3 separate regions of the Homo sapiens genome follow, and all the other regions are linked to region 2. Evidence: promoter capture Hi-C in 16 types of primary human blood cells and fetal thymus (Javierre and others, 2016). All regions are on one chromosome and are shown on one strand. The core of a region is centred on a gene start or on the middle of the fragment in contact, and the rest is flanking DNA. Distances in the headings are between cores, read along the strand shown.

The links. The method cuts DNA at HindIII sites, captures the fragments that hold promoters and counts their contacts. A CHiCAGO score of 5 or more calls a contact.
Region 1: a contact is called between a fragment that was not itself captured here and the fragment with the promoter of KLHL31 in region 2, in 3 of 17 cell types (naive B cells, M2 macrophages and M0 macrophages). The highest score is 9.6, in naive B cells.
Region 3: a fragment that was not itself captured here is called in contact with the fragment with the promoter of KLHL31 in region 2 in 1 of 17 cell types (M0 macrophages); the score reaches 5.4 in M0 macrophages.

Annotation. Positions count from the first base shown.
Region 1 is chr6:53,119,284-53,121,983 of GRCh38, forward strand. No RefSeq gene overlaps it. Among named protein-coding and RNA genes, the nearest start is that of GCM1, 28 kb to the right of the region's middle. RefSeq lists a silencer at 508-802 and an enhancer at 674-1,173. The HindIII fragment of the contact is 9,228 bases long and covers 1-2,700 here.
Region 2 is chr6:53,664,387-53,667,086 of GRCh38, forward strand. It overlaps KLHL31 (kelch like family member 31), which reads right to left and starts at 1,370. Exons shown (of 3, transcript NM_001003760.5): 1 at 1,215-1,370. The HindIII fragment of the contact is 2,006 bases long and covers 910-2,700 here.
Region 3 is chr6:53,082,437-53,085,136 of GRCh38, forward strand. FBXO9 (F-box protein 9) reads left to right here. Exons shown (of 13, transcript NM_033480.3): 7 at 68-182. Among named protein-coding and RNA genes, the nearest start is that of FBXO9, 18 kb to the left of the region's middle. The HindIII fragment of the contact is 1,949 bases long and covers 289-2,237 here.

The DNA.
Region 1 (2,700 bases), core at 5-2,504, 550 kb before region 2:
AAATCTTACCCTCCATCAGCTCCCAAAATCTTATGTCTTTAGATTACAATCCAAATATCATTTTATTTTAAACCAAAAGGAACACAGGTGCTCTGTGACAAATCAAAAATCCCAAGGCTTAGCAGGAAATGTTTAGATTCCAAAATCACTTTTTCCTGGCAAGGCAAAAAATAGCTAGGAAAAGAACTCTATGGGGATGTGTCTTCTCTCCTGGTCAGAAAAAACTGTTGTGGAAGTGGCTTCTATGTAAATATTTGCAGAATGAGCAAATAAACCACTAAAATCACCCAGGGCCTGCCACATTCTGTCTTCCCAGGACAATGCTCTAAATTTAAGGGTGGGACTCTAGTCAGAATCTGAACTTTATTCTTTCTGTTTTGAACATCAGAATTAAAGTTTAGAAGTTGGTTCTGCTTTTAAAATTTGTCCCATTTTTTTTCCCCTTCATCGTGACATTAAATTGTTTAGTTTCCACTGTTTCTCCCCCAGTCCTCCCCTCTCCCTACTTTTGAAGGTCTCTCTCTCTCTCTCACTCATCCCAGGAGGTTGGAAGGACCCATTTGGCCACAAAGACAGCATTTCCACCTACCAACCCAGCCCAGATGTCTAAGTCCAGCTTAGCTGTGACCCCTCCTTGTGGACTCCATGGCAGAGACAGGTGGACAAAAGCAATGACTGTTAAGGTGCCATCTGGGGTCAAGGCCACATACAGTCTGGCAGCACCTCAGCCAATTGCCTTCACCCCTATCCTACTCCATTGACAAGGCCAGGAATATCTTCTCCCTTGCCTGTCTGAGCTTAGTCCTCTTCATTTACACATTTCCTAATTAAATAGTACCCACAAGTGAACAGGAAAGCACTCCCCTAAATGGAGGGCCATTAGTGTCCTTGGGATCAGCTAATATGTCAGTAGTTGTTTGTAGAAAAATACTGAATAGTAGCACAGCTGTTACTATTTATATGTAAACACAAACGGTGGCTGGCCGTGGTGACTCATGCCTGTAATCCCAGTGCTTTGGGAGGCTGAGGCGGGAGCCTCCCTTGAGCCCAGGAGTTTGAGACCAGCATGAGCAACACGGGAGACCCCTGTTTCTACCAAAACAAAACAAAACAACCTCCACAAATATTACTAATCATATGCAACTAACAACATAAGCTATTAAAAATATGTGTGACCAGTTTACATTAAGATAAGTCCATCTAGTGATTTTTATTTCATTTTTGGATCAAAATCATTTGTACGTGGTAAAAAAATACGATAGTACACACAGAGTTTATGCTAAAAATTATTGCCCCTCCCCCAATGCTCCCCAAGACATGGCAAATTTAAACCTTTTCTGACTTTGGTTTTTCTGAGGTAACCCTGATCATTCTAAATCACATGCTTATTCCTCAGTTTCTTAATGTATCAAATCTGGATCTCTATTGATTGCCCAGGATGAAAAATGGGGTTTACCTCACTTGTGTTTTTGCTCCTTTCCCTGTCTCTACCTTCTTCTTCTTGACGTTTTGCAGTCATATGCTGTTGTATGATTATTCTCCATGCCTCTACTAGACATCTTTGCAACTTAAAGAAACATTAAATCACTGTTTATTATTCCATCCTTAGCCAGTGTCTCTGGATACCCTCCCACACAAAAATGTGTTGACCCTACCCAAATCTTCTTCCACTTTTTTTCTCTTTTGCCTCTGTCAACTACATCTTTACCACAGTGACATTCTGTGCTGGAACTATTATGGGGTCTTTTGTATTTTATCTGCAGTTAATTAAAAAGTTGGAACCCAATAATTATGTCTACACAAGTGGCTTAGGACACAGCTACATAGCAGCAAGGGCCATCTTTTCTTATCTGTGGCTTTAAAGTTTCCAGCATCAAGATCAAATGTCAGACAGCCTTCACTTCAGAGTGCCTTTAGACCTTCACCTCCAAAATGCAACAATACAAAATACTTTATTCTCGGGAACAAGTACCCAAGTTGAAGCCTCAGTTCCCCTAGAATAGTTAATTCAATTTCTCTTGAGGCAAGTCTTACTTTTAGTATTTTTATTATTTTTTAACTGTTTGTATTCCCTGGGATGCATGTTTGGGTGAAGTCCTAACTGGTAGCAGTTGATCTGCAGAAAGACTTTCAAGTATTGGTCCTGTTTCCGGTGCCCATCTCTCCTCATTCCTACCCTTCAGCTCAGTGACATCAGCCCGCAGCCTTTCCAGGGTCCTGCCTTTCCATTTCACTTCTCTGGGGCTCCTCATTGTACATCAATATACACTTCATCCACTTCCCATCTCCCAGAAATTTGTCGACGTTTCTGATGCACTCATTATCCCCCTTATGTTCTCTTGGCTCATTTTTTTATACTTCATTACTGACATTTAAGATCTCCAGCAAAGGCATACATTTGGTCTGCCACCTTAAGCTAAATAATAAATGACTTTTTATACTAAATAGGCAGTGAAACAAGTCCCTACTTTGGATATTTTATTCATACTACGTTTTTATTAAGATCAGAATAATAGTCCCAACAGTGGTTTGTTGTTGTTGTTGTTGTTTGAGATGGAGTCTCGCTCTGTCACCCAGGCTTGCTGGAGTGCAGTGGCACAATCTCACCTCACTGCAACCTCCACCTCCTGGGTTCAAGTGATTCTCCTTCCCAGCCTCCCAAGTAGCTGAGACTACAGGTGCACACCACTACTCCCAGCT
Region 2 (2,700 bases), core at 120-2,619:
ACTGTGTGCATATGTTTATGTGTACTTTCCACACACTGGGCTCAGCGTTTTCATGAGATCCATAACCCGAAATAGATCCAAAATGACTGGACTGAGAATAATGCTGCCAAGCAATGGTACATAATTGGACCCTTGTCTGTAAGTGGGCAAGTCCATGTGAAAGTATTGCACTTAAATTCTTCCTGGCCCCAGCTGATCCCAGATGAAGACCCCCAGAACTGGTTATAGAAAAGAGTTGTTACTTCATATTTGAGAACATTTTCCTTCCCACTGCCCTGCACCCATGCTTCCTGGGAGTCCACAACAGGGTAAACTGGAAAGCCATGTGTGCTAAAGTGTCACTGTCACTCTCATGCCAGTATGAACTGGGATCCCAGAATGTCTTTTTGCCAAAGGGGCGAATCAGCTGCGCCTGCTCCCTGTCCTGGCCACATTCCTATCGCTGCATCTGTCGGGGCTCATCAGCCCTACCTCCAGGAATAGAAACCCTCCTGGCTTCTGTGGCTTGCCATTTTAAGTCCAACCTCGGGGTGGGGTGTAGGGGGGTGGTTTCCACTTCACCATTACACTTCCAACATGATTTTTAATATAAAATATATGTCAGCATAATGATATGTGCACATTTAAGACAAAAACCTATTTTTTAGCCAAATAACAAATTTTTTTTTTTTTTTAGGAAGGATATTTCCATTTCATCAATAGGTTATATTTCTGGGAATTCAGAGTTGTCTGAGTTTTGTGCTACAGATTTAGTTAAAACTGGTAACATTTCATCCAAACTGATCAGTAACAAATGTTAAAATGATTCTTGATAAAAATAAAGGTAGAATTCTAAACTTTGTGAACAAAGCCTAAGAATTTTCTCTCCTTCTCCTTCTCTATAAAGTAGTGAAAGAAAAATATATCTTAAGCTTTAGAGATTTAGAATTTTTGTTAGAAATTACAGGTGGTTTTACATTTGTAGGGCATCATTGTCATGCATTTTGTTACCGTGAAGTTCTCCTAACACGTTACATTTCTCAGATTTCAAAAAAATGTTTTCTGTCTCCCAACTTCAGATTAGGGACATGAACCACCTGACCCAGCTGTAGACTCCCTTCAGTAAAATAGCTCTACAACCACAAACACTCAGCCCACCCTCTCCCACCCACACATCCACACACACCCCAGGATCTAGAAGGCAGGAATTGGCGACTCTGGTCCCAGCTCCTTACCCTCCTTGGGTGAAGTGGCAGGTCAACTTGAGATGATGAAGTTTTAGCAGGAGACTCCTCTTGGGAAGGGATCTGTGGAGATAGAGAGAGGGAGAAGGAAAATCCGGTGGGGAGCCACCAGCAGCCACCTGACAAGACCCGGCTGCAGCAATTTTTAGAGTGACCCTTTGCCGTCCCACTGGATAAGGCAGGCCGAGCCTGCGCTTTGGCCCGGGAGCAGAGCAGCGAGCGCCCTCCTCTCCGTCTTTGGCCTTCAACTCTCCAGCCAGCCGGGGGCAGGGGGCGGGGCTCCGGTTGGTGGAGAGGGGTTGGGTTTCTTGAACTGACCAGCTGCTCAAAATGAAAAAGAAAAGAAAAGAAAAGAAAAGAAAGAAAGAAGGAAAGAAAGAAAGAAAGAAAGAAAGAAAGAAAGAAAGAAAGAAGGAAGGAAGGAAGGAAGGAAGGAAGGAAGGAAGGAAGGAAGGAAAGAAAGAAAGAGAAAGAAAGAAAGAAAGAAAGAAAGTCAAGAGCTCAATCAACCTGTGTGAGAGGAAAGAAAATTAATTCGATGGATGTTTAATTGTTGGAAGCAGGGATTCTAGTAGAGTAAGGAGAAGGGAAGGCTGTGGATTAAAAATTAGTTTTTGGAAAGGTAATTAGCCTGGTCACCTACGGTCTTTTGAGAAGATAGTGGTTATAAATAGCCTATTCTTTATAAGAGGAGCACGTATCTACCAGATATGGTACTTTCTACAGCACCTCACATGTGGTTCTAACATTATTAGGCTCATTTTAGAGTTTAATAAAGTGAGGTTTATGGCCAGCGATTTTCCAGTGATCACAGAGAGGTCTGAGATTAACACACACTCTAGCACACATGCAGGTTGGGAAATATCTACTTTGGCAACACTTCATGAGAAAAAAAATTCAATGATTATAATTGACTACAAATTTTAATGGGCACCAAGAGTGTGAAATGGTTGCTTAAAAAGTTAACATGATATTAAGCTACAATAATAGAAAAATAGATCATGGAAAATAAATGTTCTAATTATTCTTCATTAGTCAGATGATGTGTTAAGCATCACTTTGCTATCTTGGCACTCTGAGAACTTACTCTTCATCCTACAGAGATGGCTGGAACAAAAAAACTTCAGAGGCGGTGCATGTTGGAAACATCTGAAGAGAAGTATGACAAAGAGAGGACTTTTAAGATAAGTGAGACACCTGAGAGCAAGTGTTGTGGGGGCTGTTGTACAGCAAGAGGATTCAGTCAAAATTTCTGTAGCCTAAAATGTCAAAAATTTTAATGTGCAGTAATTCCGGGGAAATACCTTAAAATAAAGAAGAAGAGTGCAGATAACAGCTGGGCTCTAATGATGAAAATGGCAGCCTTGTAAAAGAGCCAGTTCTCTATAATTAGAAGGGTGGAAGTAAAAGAAGTTGCAGGACTGGTGTGACATTGAAGGGACTCTGTCTATGGCTGGGGGCTTGCACTGCATCATCT
Region 3 (2,700 bases), core at 13-2,512, 580 kb before region 2:
TGGGAATGTAGTTGTGACAATAGAATGACATAGAGGAGAGTCACTGAAGGATGATTTTCTTTTGCAGTGCTGCCAATGGAGGTCCTGATGTACATCTTCCGATGGGTGGTGTCTAGTGACTTGGACCTCAGATCATTGGAGCAGTTGTCGCTGGTGTGCAGAGGATTCTACATCTGTGCCAGGTACTAAGTTTTTGTTTTTGTTTTTTAAACAACTGAGGCAATGGTGAAAAGAAAGATGGTCCTTTGCCAATCCTGATAAAATTACTTGATTGGTGTTCTGAGTTAAAGCTTAGAATAAACAAGTTTTGCTAAGCTGTACTTAACTTTCTCAAATAACTTAGAATTTAAAGGCTAGAATATGCTAGGTTTCTAGGGTATAGAATAATATGTAGGACAGATGTAGTAACCCATACTACTACCATAGAGTTTACATGCTAGCTTAACTGATTTGGGAAAAAGAGTTATATTAGAAAAATATATTCAAGTCATTTTTACACTAACTGTAAACTCATTGTGGTAATGGTTTAGATTAAAACAGCACTAGCATTTTCTTATGGCTCATTAAAAGTTATTCTATATTTTGAAAATTTTGCTATGTGTGGGAAAGGACTCTATTCAATAAATGGTGCTGAGATAAGCGGCTAGCCATGTGCAGAAGATGGAAACTGGATCCTTTCCTTACACGACACACAAAAATCAAATCAAGATGGATTAAAGACTTAAATGTAAAACCTAAAACTATATACTTAGTCCTTATATAGAATTTTTAAAAACAACTTGTTCTTAAAATTCAGATGCATTATTTTTAAATTAATTCCATTTGGAATCTTGTAGTTTTCATAAAATATTTGAATTTCTTGAAGACTCTTTTTCACAATTCTGTGTGCTAGTATATTTAACAAGTACCTATTAAACACCTAGTGGATTGCCACTAGAGTCTCTAGCACTGTTATGTCAACCTAAATAATAAGCAGATAGACTCTCTAAAAGACATTTATTTGAGAATAATACATTGCAATGGGAATACACATGCCATAGTAAACTATTCAGGGAAACAAAAGTTTTTAAAGGAAAAAATGAGGATTACATAATTGTTTTGAAATACTTAATCCTTGACTACAAAGATCAGTAACAAGGGGGACGCCAGTCTGAGATTGGACAGACAGTTTCTTGGGCAGATGTCCTTGCAGCAAAAATATTTTTTGTATAAGGCTGTGATGGCCTTTGTGCAGAGCTGTGTTTTTTATAGTCTTTTTTGTTAACCAGTCATAGAAGCCTGAGAACCTTCTCTTCATGGCCTTCCTCAGCTCTCTTTGTCAGGGTTTTCTTAACATTAGTGGCTCCATTTTTATTTTAACAACTTTCACATTTTCCCCTTTTGATCAGTATCTTTCTCTGATCAGTCATCCTGTAGTTAGGTTTTGACATCCCATAGTACCAGCATAGACCAGTCCTGGTTTCTAGTCTCATCCCATGTTGGGGAGAATGATTAGCAACTAGGAGTCCGTGTCAAAATGCTTTTAAGCCACATTTGGGCAAGAAGGGACGTCTGAAGGGAATGACTCTCAGGCTGTGTCTACCTGGATTCCATTATTAAGTTTGATTTTTGTCTATTCCATAGTCTTTGTTACTCAAAATGCTGGGCCAGCGTTATTGTTAGGTGTGGTACTTCTGCAGAAATTTAACAAGTAACAAAGTTAATAGTAATATGACAATTCCAATTTGCATAATGGTTTTGAGCCATGAACCTAGGCTTAAGAACAACTAATTGAGTAGACCAGTGACCACAGGGAATTAGGTGAGACCATGTAATCATGCTACCTGTTTTCTTATTTTGTGTACATGGGTCTCAACTTTATCAGAGGGATTTATCTAGGTACAGCATGTAGTACTAGCAATAGCACAGATATTTTCTTTTTTAACCAATGAATACTAAAGGATTTCTTGGGTTAGGTTCTGTTAAGTTACCAGCAGAAGCTATTGATTATGAAATTTCAATTACACCATTATCCTGTCAAGTGAAAAAAGTAGCATTAAGTGGGGGTAAAAGTCTTATGATATGGTTCTGATGTCATGGGAAAAGCTGTCTACAGCTTTCACAAAAACATCAGATTCTCCTCCTGATTTATGTTTGAATGTCTCTGGTCATGATATTGTTGTGTGGCTCATATATCAGGCATGAGACTTGTTTCTTAAAATTTGAATAGTTTCAGCTTAAAGGGCTTTACGAACAGAAGCTTTTGTTTTTAGTTGGCGTGTTGTAGTCCAATCCTGGAGGAAACTAGGAGAATTCATCAAACAGTCCGGTGTACGTGTGGATAACAACAGGTGTATTGCAGTTTTTTTTTTAAGAAACGTTTTTTTCCTACATTGATCATATAGGAATTTCAGATTTAAAAATCTCTTGAGGCTAGGAAGTCAAAGAGAGGTAGACTTTAGGCTTCACTTAGGGTCTTAAGGTTCTTGGGCCTGCTAGGAAGTGACAGGTTTTACTCACGATAAGGCTGAGAACTCTTAAAGCCGGATGTTTTATGCACATTCTTAAATATGACATTTTCAGTCAAAGCCTTGGTAATATAACTAATGTTTCTAATTGTATCCTCATATAAAGGGATTAGATTTTTATTGAACTTATATAAATAAAAATAATATGAATAGTTTCTGAATTTTGGAGAAATCAAGTAGGGAGAAAAAGCAA